Linked DNA regions of Homo sapiens: region 1 is linked to region 2. Evidence: promoter capture Hi-C in human tissues and cell types (Jung and others, 2019). All regions are on one chromosome and are shown on one strand. Each heading gives the region's core, a stretch centred on a gene start or on the middle of the fragment in contact. The rest is flanking DNA. Distances are from core to core; before and after follow the strand shown. Region 1 overlaps TRPM2 (transient receptor potential cation channel subfamily M member 2). Region 2 holds the start of KRTAP12-4 (keratin associated protein 12-4).

Evidence for each region. The method cuts DNA at HindIII sites, captures the fragments that hold promoters and counts their contacts. A contact is called where the count stands out against the background at its distance.
Region 1: a contact is called between a fragment that was not itself captured here and the fragment with the promoter of KRTAP12-4 in region 2, in 1 of the 25 tissues and cell types used here (H1 embryonic stem cells).

Annotation. Positions count from the first base shown.
Region 1 is chr21:44,367,848-44,375,064 of GRCh38, reverse strand. It overlaps TRPM2 (transient receptor potential cation channel subfamily M member 2), which reads right to left. Exons shown (of 32, transcript NM_003307.4): 5 at 5,722-5,888. Among named protein-coding and RNA genes, the nearest start is that of TRPM2, 18 kb to the right of the region's middle. RefSeq lists an enhancer at 4,048-4,881. The HindIII fragment of the contact is 5,830 bases long and covers 1,575-7,217 here.
Region 2 is chr21:44,649,667-44,657,129 of GRCh38, reverse strand. KRTAP12-4 (keratin associated protein 12-4) reads left to right here and starts at 2,471. Exons shown (of 1, transcript NM_198698.1): 1 at 2,471-2,917. The coding sequence starts at 2,516. The coding sequence ends at 2,854. The region is part of intron 1 of TSPEAR (thrombospondin type laminin G domain and EAR repeats); the gene reads left to right. RefSeq lists enhancers at 1,006-1,506, 1,507-2,007. The HindIII fragment of the contact is 6,744 bases long and covers 1-4,434 here.

The DNA.
Region 1 (7,217 bases), core at 3,240-5,739, 280 kb after region 2:
TGGTGCACACCTGTAGTCCCAGCTACTTGGGAGGCTGAGATGGGAAGATCACTTGAGCCCGGGAGGTCAAGGCTGAGGATCGCACCAACATACTCCAGCCTGGGCAACAGTGAGACCCTGTCTCAGAAAAAAAACAACTCGCAGTAAGGGCTCAGAAGGAAGTGAGGAGCAGGGCAGAGAGGGCTTTGTTGCCCTAGAGCAGGGGTCCCCCACCCCCTGGGCCATGGACTGGTAATGGTCTGTGGCCTGTGAGGATCTGGGCTGCTCACAGCAGGAGGTGGGTGGTGGGTGAACGAGCGAAGCTTCATCCCTATTTACAGCCGCTCCCCATCGTGTGTGTGACTGTCCGAGCTCCACCTCCTGTCAGATCCGCGGCATTAGATTCTCATGGGAATACTAACCTTACTGTGAACTGTGCATGCGAGGGACCTAGGTTGTACTCCCCTTACGAAAATCTAATGCCTAATGATCTGTCACTGTCCCCCATCACCCCCAGATGATGGGACCGTCTAGCTGCAGGAAAACAAGCTCAGGGCTCCCACTGATCCTACATTATGGTGAGCTGTATGATTACTGCATTATATATTACAATGTAATAATAGAAATAAAGTGCACAATAAACGTAACGTGCTTGAATCATCCCCAAACCAACCGCTTACCACCCCGCCCCCATCTGTGGAAAAACTCTCTTCCACGAAACCAGTTCCTGGTGCCAAAAAGGCTGGGGACCGCTGCCTTAGAAAATATATATACGGGCCAGGCACGGTGGCTCACGCCTGGAATCCCAGCACTTTGGGAGGCCAAGGTGGGCAGATCAGTTGAGGTCAGGAGTTCGAGACCAGCCTGGCCAACATGGTGAAACCCCGTCTGTACTAAAAATACAAAAATTAGCTGGGTATGGTGGCACATGCCTGTAATCCCAGCTACTCGGGAGGCTAAGGTGGGAGATTTGCTTGAACCCGGAAGGTGGAGGTTGCAGTGAGCCAAGATCGCACCACTGCACTCCAGCCTGGGCAAAAGAGCAAGGCTCCATCTCAAAAAAAAAAAAAGAGAGAGAGAGAGAATACATATACTGGCATGAACAGAATTTTAGCAGAAAAATGAACATCACAGTTGCTTCTTCTGGTGAGGGCTCAGAAGGAAGTGGGAAATGTGGTACTGGAGACTGGAGGGAAGGCCAACTTTGCTGCAGAGTGACAGAAAGCCTGGCTGAATTGTGCTGTGCAGTTTTGTGGAGAGCAGAACTGTAAATGATGAACTTGAAGATTTAGCCGCAGAGATCTCCAAGCAAAGTGTTCAAGTTGTGGCCTGGCTTTTTTTTCTTGCTGCTTCTCACAAAATGCAAAAGGAAAGAGAGAAATTGAGGGAAAAACTGACAGACAAAATGGAACCAGGACTTGATGATGTGGGAAATTCTCAGCCTATCCGGGTCGCATATAATGCAGGTCGCATATAATGCAGGTCGCATATAATGCAGGTCGCATATAATGCAGGTCGCATATAATGCAGGTCGCATATAATGCAGAAAATGAAAAGAGATTCACTGTTCGAAAAGCAGACTCTAAAGAGAAGGCCAACGGCCAAGCGCAGTGGCTCACACCTGTAATCCCAGCACTTTGGGGGGCCGAGGCGGGCGGATCACTTGAGGTCAGGAGTTCGAGACCAGCCTGGCCAACATGGAGAAACCCTGTCTCTACTAAAAATACAAAAATTAGCTGGGCATGGTGGTGGGTGCCTGTAGACCTAGCTACTCAGGAGGCTGAGGCAGGAGAATCACTTGAACCCAGGAGGCGGAGGTTGCAGTGAGCTGAGATCGCACCACTGCACTCCAGCCTGGGCAACAGAGTGAGACTGTCTCAAAAAAAAAACAAAAAGAAAAAAGAGAGAGGGCCAAGGGTGTGTCTAAACAACCTCCTGCTAGTGATGAAGAGACCAGGCAAGGAGACTGCAATTCACTCAACCATCTCAGAAGCCAGGAGTGGAGACAGCATCACAGGAAAGGTCTGCAGAGCCCTTTTTGTCTACTGGCAGAAATTCCTATGGCATTCAAAGGAGGACTGCAAGGTTTTCACAAATGTTATATCAACAACAACACTGCAAATTTGGACTGAAAGGGACAGAGACGGGATAAAATGAAAGGTCGTCAGACTCCTTAAAATCTTCAAGCAGACTAAAAGCTATAACCTTCAGGGAAAAGGATCGTCCTGAAGGCAGGGCCGTGGACACAGAGCAGGGTAGGGGGTGCCCAAGCCACAGAGGGGTCTCCCCGGTCTTATCACCTAGTGCATTCTGCCTGCCGGGTTTTGGAATTGCCTGGGGCTGGTGATGCCTTCGTTCCTCCCGTGTTCCCCCATTGGGAATGAGAGTGTCTGCAGCTGTGATGCTACACCTGCTCTTCCCTTGTATTTTGGAGATAGGTGACTTGTTTTCTGGTCTCACAGGTGCACATATGAAGAGAAATTCTGCCCCAGAATGGATCAGACCCAGAGTCTTCAGCGTCCCTGACTTAAATGATGACATTTGGGACTTTTGAGCTGATGATATTTTTGTTTGTTTGTTTTGTTTTGCTTGAGACGGTGTCTCGCTCTGTCACCTGGGCTGGAGTGCAGTGGCACAACCTTGGCTCGCTGCAACCTCCGCCTCCCAGGTTCAAGCGATTCTCCTGCCTTGGCCTCCCAGTAGCTGGGATTACAGTCGCCTACCACCATGCCCGGCTAATTTTTTGTAGAGACGGGGTTTCTCCATGTTGACCAGGCTGGTCTCAAGCTCCTGACCTCAGGTGATATGCCTGCCTTGGCCTCCCAAAGTGTTGGGATGACAGGTGTGAGCCACCGCACTCGGCCAAGCTTATGATATTTACATGAGATTTTGATCTTGGAGTTTCTGCTGTAACAGGTTTGTAGTTGGAGGGGATCATTTTGTTTGGTTTGGTTTGGTTTAGTTTAGACAGAGTCTTGCTCTGTCACCCAGGCTGGAGTGCAGTGGCATGATCTTGGTTCCCTGCAACCTCCAGCTCCTGGGTTCAAGCAATTCTTCTGCCTCAGCTGGGATTACAGGCGCCTGCCACTATGCCCAGTTAATTTTTGTATTTTTAGTAAAGACAGGGTTTCCACCATATTGGCCAAGCTGGTCTTGAACTTTTGTCCTCAAGTGATCCGCCCATCTCAGCCTCCCAATGTGCTGGGATGACAGGTGTGAGCCCCCACACCCAGCCAAGATCTGGCAATGGTGTGAACATATTTTGCCTGTGGAGTGGACAGAAATCTTTGAGGTCAGAGGGAGGACCGCAGTTGGCTGAATCATGGCCACCCAAAGACATCAAGGCCTGCTCATGGACCCGGTAAGTGCTGCTCCTCATTTCCTTGTTTGGAAAAGCATCTTTGCAGATGTCAGTTAAAGATCTGGATATGAAGGCATCACCCTAGATGACCCTAGTGGGACCTACACGCCATCACGAGTGTTCTTACGGAACTCTTGGGGGAGATTTGACACAGGCACACAGAGAAGGCCACGGGACACGGAGGCAGAGACTGGAGGGAGGCGGCCACGGGACACGGAGGCAGAGACTGGAGGGAGGCGGCCACGGGACACGGAGGCAGAGACTGGAGGGAGGCGGCCACGGGACACGGAGGCAGAGACTGGAGGGAGGCGGCCACGGGACACGGAGGCAGAGACTGGAGGGAGGCGGCCACGGGACACGGAGGCAGAGACTGGAGGGAGGCGGCCACGGGACACGGAGGCAGACACTGGAGGGAGGCGGCCACGGGACACGGAGGCAGACACTGGAGGGAGGCGGCCACGGGACACGGAGGCAGAGACTGGAGGGAGGCGGCCATGGGACACGGAGGCAGCGACTGGAGGGAGGTGGCCACTGGCCAGGGAATGCCATCAGCACCCAGACGCTGGAGGCAGCAAGGAATGCTCTTCCCCTAGGCCCTAGAGGGAGGTGGCCCCGCCAACACCGATGGCTGGATGATGGCCAATCGACGCGGATTCCAGATCTGATAGACTAAGTTTCTGCTGCTTTAAGCCACCAGGTTTGTGAGCCTGGGTTACAGCAGCCCCGGGAGACAGACCTAAGGGAGGGCGGCAGCCGGGCTGGGACACACACCCTCCGCCGTCCACAGAGAGGGAGCGTGGCTGAGCGGAAGCAGCCACAGTCCCATTCCGCCACCAACAGTGGTGTCACGGGAAGTCGTCTGAACTCAGCGTGGGGAGGAAAGTAAGGAGTGACCTGGGACGTCACCCAGCCGCTCCTGGCTTCAGTTTTTCAATTCGTAAAAAGAGCAAACAAAGCCCAACAGCTGGTCCAGTCCGACCCCGCCGGACACATTCATGATTCTGACGCAAAGGAAGGCGAAGGCCGGGCTGGGGCTGGCCAGTGCTTGCTGGGCCCCTCGTGGGCATCTGGGAGTGTCCTCTGCCCGCCCGGGGAATGGACGCACAGTGTCCGTGTCACTGTCAGAGGAGTAAATCACCCCTCGGGGTAACAAGGGAACCTGCTCAGTGAGTCACAGGCCAGTGTTCCCTGGGCTTTCCTGACCACGTGGATTCAGGGGCACACACGCATCATACCAAAGTTAGTGTGTCCTTGGAAAATCTGGTTGAATGACTCATTATCTGTCCCAACTCAAGGCTCCGGATTAAAGCAACTGCTTCTCCTGCGTCCAGTTAATCAGAGGCAGGAGTGCTCCGTCCTCAACCTTGACGGAGAAGCTGGGGGTGGGTGCTGGCTGCCAGGGACCACAGCACAGTGGGATTCCCGGCTGCAGGAGACCTCTGAGTACAGGGACTCAAAGTGCTAAAAGCTCCGGTTCGGGGTCGGATCGCCCTGGCTCAGCCCCACCCAGCTGCCTGCTGGCCACGCCCCCTCCCTCTGCTCTGTTAGCGGAACCCTCGCAGCGAGTGACTGTCACGTGGACCCCTCTTACAACCTTGAGGGAGATACCAGAGTCCAGCCAAGTTAGCCGTTTGTCCGGGGTCACCTGGGTCAGGGGTGGGCCGGGAGTTGCACCCAATCTCCTGAGTGTGCCCGCCTCCCCCGCACACTCCACCTGCTCCTCACAGCACCCGGTCAGACGTCACCCACACCCCGCCTCCCCCGCACACTCCACCTGCTCCCCGCAGCACCCGGTCAGAACTCACCCACACCCCGGCCCCCGCACACTCCACCTGCTCCCCGCAGCACCCGGTCAGACGTCACCCACACCCCGCCTCCCCCGCACACTCCACCTGCTCCCCGCAGCACCCGGTCAGACGTCACCCACACCCCGCCTCCCCCGCACACTCCACCTGCTCCCCGCAGCACCCGGTCAGAACTCACCCACACCCCGGCCCCCGCACACTCCACCTGCTCGCCGCAGCACCCGGTCAGACGTCACCCACACCCCGCCTCCCCCGCACACTCCACCTGCTCCCCGCAGCACCCGGTCAGACGTCACCCACACCCCGCCTCCCCCGCACACTCCACCTGCTCCCCGCAGCACCCGGTCAGAACTCACCCACACCCCGGCCCCCGCACACTCCACCTGCTCCCCGCAGCACCCGGTCAGACGTCACCCACACCCCGGCCCCCGCACACTCCGCCTGCTCCCCACAGCGCCCGGTCAGACGTCACCCACACCCCGGCCCCCGTACACTCCACCTGCTCCCCACAGCGCCCAGTCAGACCTCACCCACACCCCTGGTCTTAGGCTCCCCTCCCTAGGGGGCCGCACTCACCGTGGGATGGATCAGGCCCTCGCGGCGGTGGACAGTGCCCCAGGTGGCGACTCCGATGGTGATGAGCTCGCCTTCCTTGTAGCTGCTGCTCAGGCTGAAGTCCCGCACCGCCTCGCCTACCTGCTTCATGACGCCGGTGTGGGACCCCCCTGTGATGATCCAGGCCCCTGGGGAAGGAGCACGGGTGGGCAGGCCCCACAGCACTGAGGGGCACCTGACACCCAGGAGCCTGACGCCTGAGCCCTTCTAGGCTCAGCGATGCCCCGCCCCCAACAACGCAGAGCTCCTCACTCAGGGGCTTTCAAACCAGCATCAGGTGTAAGGAACCGAGGTTCCCACGCGCTCAGGTGGGGTGGGAACAGGAGCAGGCCCCGCCCCTCTCCCGGTCCCTGCCGCCTCCTCAGGCCCCAGTCTCAGGATCGCGGTTCTCAGCACCTCTCTGCATTCTTGTATTTTGCTTTCCCTCTTCCTCCCAGCTTTCAGGACCCAGGTGCGGCAGAGTGCTTCCTCGCTCCCAACACTCAGCCTGGTCCCTAGGAAGGATGCCCCTCACCTCCCACCTGCCATCTGCTGCTGGTGGTTTGCAGCCACCCCTGTAAGAAACACACCTCCGGCCGGGCACGGTGGCTCACGCCTGTAATCCCAGCACTTTGGGAGGCCGAGGCGGGCAGATCACCTGAGGTCAGGAGTTCGAGACCAGCCTGGCCAACATGGTGAAACCCCGTCTCTACTAAAAATACAAAAATTAGCCAGGCATGGTAGCACACGCCTGCAGTCCCAGCTACTCAGGAGGCTGAGGCAGGAGAATTGCTTGAACTCAGGAGGCAGAGGTTGCAGTGAGCTGAGATAGCGCCACCACCACTGCACTCCAGCCTGGGTGACAGAGCAAGACTCCAACTCCAAAAAAAAAACAAAAAAATAAAAAAAACAGCCAATCAGCCAGGCATGGTGGCTCACGCCTGTTATCCCAGCACTTTGGGAGGCCAAGGCAGGAAGATTACTTGAGCCCAGGAGTTCAAGACCAGCCTGGACAACATAGACCTTGTCTCTACAAAAATTAGCCTGGCATGGTGGCATACGCCTCTAGTCCCAGCAACTCAGGAGGCGGAGGCAGGAGTATCACCTGAGCCCAAGAGGTCGAGGCTGCAATGAGCTGAGATCGTGCTACTGCACTCCAGCCTGGGGAACAGACTGAGACCCTGTCTCAAAAATAAATAGATGGATGGATGGAAGGATGGAGATAGATAGATAGAAAGATAACAATTGAAAAGGTGGTACTGGCTTTGGGCCAGGAAGCGGACAACAAGGACACGGATATTGAAAGCTAAAAAAATGCAACATCAAGACCTGGAGCAGGTGAGACCTGAACAAATCCATGGCATTATTTGAGGCAGCAAAGCTTCAGAAAGAGCCTGTGGGATGGTGACCTGCGTTAAACCCAGTCCCATGTGACCAGGCTGAGAAAAGGTCTGGTCATTTTACAAGCAGGGCTGTGG
Region 2 (7,463 bases), core at 1,222-3,721:
TCTGGGGGGCGTCTGTGAGGAGACAATGTGGCCATGGAGAGAGTGAGGATGCTGCTTCAGAAACTGGTATGTCCAGGGGAGGCAGGAATCCTGTACTCTGGGTGTTGGGCCATGGGTGCAGGTGAACTGGTCAGATCATGAGGACCCAAGAACCAAGCATCAGAATCCCATGCTGGGGGGGTCTGGGATTTGGGGTTAGGAGTCAGATGGAAAAAGAATCAGTGAACCTGAAGACACACCAGTAGAAATTATCTTGTCTCAAGAAGAGGAGAAAGAATCTAGAAAAATGAAAAGACATATGAGACAGTACTGAACTGTCTAACATACTAGTAGTTTGAACCTTGGAAAGAGAAGAGAGCGATACTGAACCATAAATAAGTTTCAAAAAAATAATGGCCCAAGGCACCAAATATGATTTAAAAAATAACAACTTACAGACCCAAGAATCTCAGAACCTTTAGGAGGATCAACACAAAGAAAACCATATCCAAGCATCAAATAGTAAGAGTAATGAAAATCAAAAAATTATTGAAGACAGTGGAAAAAAAAGACACTTCTCATACAAGGTATAAGGTTCTTGCAAGGATGAGAAAATCCCTCACTTCTCAGCAAAAACAGTGGAGGCCAGAAGACAATGGAACAACTTCTTTAAAATGCTCAAAAAAAATTTGCCAACCCAGAATTCTATACCTATGAAAAAAATCCTTCAAAACATGTTGAGGTAAAAACCTGTTCAGAAGAGCAAAAGCTGGGAGAAATCCTCCCCTGCAGATGTGCACTGCAGGTGACGTGCACGGATGTCCTTTAGGTTGACTAGGACGAGGCCAGGTGGGCCCTGACCTGCAGGAAGGAGTAGGAGGAACAGGGGAAGGTAAAGGAGCAGATAAATATCAAAGACGCATCCTTGTTCTTCTGTAATCGACTCGTAAGACAACCAACTTTTAAAATGGATTACTTGGTGACTAGCTCACAATCACTGTGGCTGCCCCAATTCTCTTGGTTTTTAAGTGTGATTCTGAACTATAGCAGTGAAAGGAGTTGCCTGTGAACTTGTGGCCTCGCCCGGCTTGTCCCTAGGCCTTAAGGTGACTCCCACATGGCCACAGATCGGCTCTGGGTCCATAGACTTCTAAGTTCTGTCCACAGCTCTGAGACCCCACTTGGTCTTCAGCCTTGGAGGGGATTTCATTAATGTGGTGTCTGACTTGTCTGAAGGCTTCTTGGCAGGAATCACCCATATCCACCACCAGCAGGCACAGAAGGACCCACACAGGAGCAGAGGGTGCCCCTGGGAGCTGCCTGGGATGGACAGAGTAGCTCTGCCCTGAGAGATGGCTCATCCCCCACCGTGTGACACCACCGTAGAATAAAGCGCTGTGGCCAATCCATCAAGAGAACAGAGCTGGAGTGTGAGGAGGAGCGTGTCATCCACACTCCTGCCCGCTGCTTCCCAAGTTCAGGGGCATCCTGGAATTTCACACCAGCTCCTCACTTTCCCCCAAGCTGCCTCTGCAGGGGTGAGACTGATCAGACCCACAGCGAGGGAGAGGAACCAGATATGAATAGCTCATGCCCGACTCCGTGATGGGTCCTCCTGGGCTCCGTCTGCAGAGGAGGTGTCCTGTGGCCATTAGTGCTACTCGTGGGAAGTGGGCACTTCTGAGGTGTGGTGTCAGGAAGCCCACTGTGGTCACACGCCTGAGCCATGCTCTGCAGACGCCAACGTGGCTGATGTTTTCGTCCATCTTCTCTGTCCGAGCTGGTTCAGGACTTCAGGATGAGTCACTTATTGAACCTTCAAGCCCTAGTATAATTTGGCACAGTGGTAACGACCATGGATCCCAGAGTGAAACTAAGCAGTCCAGATCCCTGCACCTCTGCAGTGGTGCAGACACGCACCCATTGTGCAAACCCTCTATGACTTACAAATTGCACATCTGTAAAATGGGGTATCGGCCACCCCGAATGCTGGCAAAGATGAATGAGATAATCACAGCCTGGCACAGTGCTAGACCTCTGTGCATTACTGTTACCTCAATAATCATCATTATTATTCCACAATATAGAGCCCAGTAGTTTGGCTCTCGTTACTTGGGAAGACCCTGATGATGACTGAGCTTCTCAGTCAAAACGGGGCCCCTGGTGTAGTGAGTGTGACTGTGCTTGTGTGAGCTCCAGATGGCATTTACAACGGGGGGACCTTGAACATCCATGAGGTGGGCCCCTGGCCTCACTGACAGCCCTTCACCAGCTACCCCTGCTCTGTTTCCAGGAAACACACGGTCTGCTGAATGATAGGGCACCCCTAGCTGAAAGAGTTTCCTGAACTGAGTAACCTCAACAGAAAAACACAGAAAGATCAACCAGACAGGGCAGAGGAGGAAAAACCACCCACGAGGAAGATGCCAGGGGGCTTGTTGCCAGGATGCCGGTAGCCTGGGTATAAAGGCCACCTAAGGAAGCAGGCTCCAGACCAGCCCTGTCCTCTGCGCCCCCCACCTGTCCACACTCCATCATGTGCCACACCAGCCACTCTTCGGGCTGCCCAATGGCCTGCCCTGGCTCCCCGTGCTGTGTCCCCAGCACCTGCTACCCACCCGAGGGCTATGGGACCTCCTGCTGCTGCTCAGCCCCCTGTGTGGCTCTGCTGTGCCGGCCCCTGTGTGGGGTATCCACCTGCTGCCAGCCAGCCTGCTGTGTGCCCAGCCCCTGCCAGGTGGCCTGCTGTGTGCCTGTGAGCTGCAAGCCTGTTTTGTGTGTGGCTTCCTTCTGCCCAACCTCTGGGTGCTGCCAGCCCTTCTGCCCCACCCTGGTCTATAGACCTGTCACCTGGAGCACCCCCACTGGCTGCTGAGCAGGTGGCCTCCTATGACCCTCGTAGGTGCGAGGTCAGAAGCCAGCAGGCTCTCTGAACTCCTGCCAGGCAGTCCCCACATCCTCCCACAGCAAACTGTCGTCACCTGACTAGACCGCCTGCCTCCTTTGCGGCACCGTCACTAGATCCCAGCCGGTGAGGCCATGCGCCTTTCTACACAGTTTCTCCTGGGTTCACAGCCTGGGCCATCCACAGGGCCCTCCGCACTGTCTGATGTTAGGTCTCTTGCAAATATCATAAATACCAGATGCTGAGTGCTCACCTGAGTCTGTGTGATGCCTTCTCCTCAGTGTCTTTCCCACACTCCTTCCTCAGGAGGTACCTTCCCCAGGATTCTGGAAAGCTCCTTCCCTGCAGAGAAGGGGCAGGTACCAGATGAATGTTAGGCCTGGTGAGCGGCCTCTCAACAGCACCCTCTCGGGCTAGTGGGCCGTGCTCCTGAGCTTGGCCTGATGGGAACCCCCAACCCCAGTCACATCAGGCTTCCTTCGTCCCACTTTGTTCCTTAAATGTATGAGGTCAGTTCTTACTCTCTTCTGGGTGAGATTGAGGACAAATCACTAATTTTGTAGTTTGATCCATTTTAGGTAAAACGGGCCATCTGCTTATTAGCTGGTATGTGCAACCCACTCTTGTCAAGAAATTAAAACCTTAAACTAAATTTAAATCTATAGCTACTCCTTCATCCAACTGGATGGGAAAGAGGTTTGTGGTGTTGATAAAAAAAGCTTTTAAGGAATTAAAGTGAGCTTTACTCAGAAGTTTTACCGAGGACTATAGAAGAGTGAGGTTTCTAGCCGGGGGCAGCTCTGTCAGAGATTCCGGCTCCGTGTTTCAGCTCACACCAGCCCGGGGGCAGCCCTGTCAGAGGCTCCGCCCCGGGTTTCAGCTCACAGTTCATATGCAGGTGGCGGGAGGTCAGCACGTGCAGATCACATGAAACTGGCTCAGAAGCTGCATCAAAGCAGAATCACATCCGGGTTTGGGGGCAGGAGCACATCTGGTTATGGACCGCAGAGGCATCATCACTCGCCCTATAAGACGTTATCTTGTTCAGGAAAAGGCAAGGACTAGCATCATTTATCTTTCTTTTTTTTTGAGATGGAGTCTCGCTCTGTCACCAGGCTGGAGTGCAGCGGCGTGATCTCAGCTCACTGCAAGCTCCACCTCCCAAGTTCACGCCATTCTTCTGCCTCAGCCTCCCGAGTATCTGGGACTACAGGTGCCCGCCGCCACGCTTGGTTAATTTTTTTTGTATTTTTAGTAGAGACGGGGTTTCACCGTGTTAGCCAGGATGGTTTTGATCTCCTGACCTTGTGATCCACCCGCCTCGGCCTCCCAAAGTGCTGGGATTACAGGTGTGAGCCACCACACCCCGCCAGAAGACTCTACATTTTAACCCTATATTTGCAGGTTGATGATTCTGAGTTCTGACTTTTCCTTGATATAATTTAACTATTTAAAAATGTGTACAAGAATGGGCCATGATATGTAGTCAACTGGAGTCCCAGAAAACCTGGCACGCCTTAATGTTTGAGAATCCCAGTTTTGGCCATTTCAGTGTTCAATCTCCTTTAGCTAACCCCTTACTTCTAGAAAGATACTTGCAAGTATAGACTCTGTATGGGTTACACATGAAGCCATTCCTACCTAGTATCTTTCAACGAGGAGAATTCCCCCTTCGTAAGACATAAAAAGTCTCACAGAAGAATGTACCCCTTCAGCAAGAAGTAAAATGAACTAACTGAATACAACTCAGGACTCTCAACCAAGTGGGAGGTCAGAGACTCAGGAGAGAGTCACTCAGTCACCTGTAACCATGGAGGAGCCGTGGGGGCTCAAGTGGCCTGTGCTGGTACCGGGGTGCTGGGTCCCCGCAGTGTTCCAGACGTCCCTGAGCAGTCCACTCTGAGTCCTATCTGGGTCACTGTGATTTTCATCTAAGGAAAAAAATTAAACTTTTAGAGAATGGGGCCCGGTGCGGTGGCTCACGCCTGTCATCCCAGCACTCTGGGAGGCCGAGGCGGGCGGATCACGAGGTCAGGAGATCGAGACCATCCTGGCTAACACAGTGAAACCCCGTCTCTACTAAAAATACAAAAAATTAGCCGGGAGAGGTGGCAGGCACCTGTACTCCCAGCTATTCGGGAGGCTGAGGCAGGAGAATTGTGTGAACGCGGGAGGCGGACCTTGCAGTGAGCCGAGATCGCGCCACTGCACTCCAGCCTGGGCGACACAGTGAGACTCCGTTTCAAAAAAAAAAAAAAAAAAAAAAGAAAGTTTTATTCAGAAGTCTTACTGAGGCCTAAACTGCTCCTGGGCTATATAGGCCTCGGTCTATAGTCCTCAGTAAGACTTCTGAAGCAAACTAACTTTCATTTTTTAAAAGCTTGATTTTTTTCCCCTTAGTCCATAGAGGTGAACTTCTGTGGCCAGCTGAGTATGGTCGCCAATGATGTCCACATCCTGGTTCTCAGAACCTATGAGTGTCACCTTTTGTGGCAGCAGGGACTTCACACGTGTGGCTAATTAAGGGAACTTAATATGTGTGGACCATAAGGTGTGGCTAATGGGAGAGTACCCTGGATTATCCAGGTGGGCCCAGTGTCTCCACAGGGTCCTTATCAGAAGGAGGGAGGAGGACATTTGGCCAGAGGAGAAGGTCATGGCAGGTGTGAGTGAGATGCCTGCTGCTAGCCCTGAACCAAGGGCTCGAGCCATTTCCAGAAGCTGAAAGAGATGAGGAAAGATTCTCTCCTGCAGCCTCCCGAAGGAACCCGCCCTGCCCATGCCTTGATTTTAGCCCTGTGAGACCCACAGCAGACTTCGGACCTCCACTGCTATGAGATGATCCATTCGTGTTGTTCGAAGCTACTAAGTTTGTGGCCACAGGACACACATCCAACTTCTCTGTCTCACAGCCTGGTGTTTCTACACACTGCGTGGTCTTGCCAGCCACAGCCGTGAGCTGTCTGGGGCTGTGTGGGGGAGGCAAGGAGAAGAAAAGGGGAGGAGAGACAAGTCTCCTCTCTGGAGACCTGTGGTGACTGGGCTGTCACTCTCTCTGCTTGCCAGGGCTTCGGCCTCACTCTCCCGCTCGTGGCCTGTCCATTGTGGGAGCTTTTTCCCTGTGGCTCCCCCAGCCTGGAAGAGGCTCTACTCTAGCTGGTGCCAACAGCTTCCTTCTGCCAAGACCTGTCCTCTCCCCAGGTTCTACTGCAGAGCCTGAGTCCACCCCTGGTGCCCCCTCCCTGGTGGGGCGCCACCTGGACCTGGGGGACCATCAGGGAGTGTCACCCTGTCCTCCCCCAGAGCATCTGCAGATTCCGGCCTCAGACTTCTTGGGTGTGTCAGAGCCAAGCCATGGTTGTCCCCTCTTCAGAGGACTCCGTCCACCTCTGGGGATCTCTGTGGCCTGTCCCTTGGCCTGTAGGAGGTCACAGGCCCCAGGCACTTCCCTCAGAACTCCTTTCCCAGCCCCCAGCCCCATTTCCCTGGACTCTCCACCCTCACTGGGGGCTGGAGCTGGAGGGCGTGTTGACATCCGGGGGCTGCTGTGACAGAGTCCCACGCCAGCTATGTGACATGGCAGAAGCTCACATCTCACGGTTCTGGAGGACTGCAGTCCGAGGTGAAGGCGTCAGTGGGGCTGGTTCCTTCCATGGTGGTGAAGGAGAGTCTGTCCCCATCTGGGGGATGACTCTGTCCTGTTTTCTGGGCCTGTTGCCTTCTTTGGTGTCCTTGGCCTGCAGGGGCATTGCCCAATCTCTGCCTCCGTCATCACGTGGCCCCAATCTCTGCCCCCGTCGTCACGTGGCCCCAGTCTCTGCCGCCGTCGTCACATGGCGTTCTCCAGGTGCCCGTTCGTGTGCAAATTTTGCCTTTTTATAAAAACAGAAGTGGTGTTGGCTCAGGGTCCCCCACTAATGACTTCACTTCAACTTGACTACATCTGCAAAGGTCCTGTTTCCACGTAAGGTCATGTTTACAGTATGAGGGATCAGCATCCAACATATACCTTTTCTTTCTTTTTTTTTTTTGGAGAGGGTCTTGCCTGGTCACCCAGGCTGGAGTGCAGTGGCGCGATCACGGCTCACTGCAGCCTTGACCTCCCAGGCTCAAGCCGTCTTCCCACCAAAGTAGCTGGGACTAGAGGTGCACACCACCATGTTCAGCTAAATTGTATTGTATTTTCTGTGGAGATGGGGTCTCACTGTGTTGCCTGGGCTGCTCTCGAACTCCTGGGCTCGAGTGGTCCTCCCTCCTCGGCCTCCCACGGTGCTGAGATTACAGGCATGCGCCACGTCTGGACCAACATGTCTTTTTTTAAGGGGACACTGTTCAGCCCAGGAAAGAGGTCGGTGCAAAGCCATGAGAGCAGCCTGGGTTCCTCTGTGCGTCAGTGGGCTGTGGCGTCTTTCATCGTGGTTCCTTGGGAAGGAAGAGTCCACTGAGAATCCGCGTGGCTGGGCCTCTTCAGGACACAGCCCAAGCCCACTGCACACACAGGAAGGCCCGAAGCTGGGCCTGAGGGTGGCCTGGCTCCCATCCAGGCATTGAAGCTATTGCAGAAGGAGGGAGGCCTGTA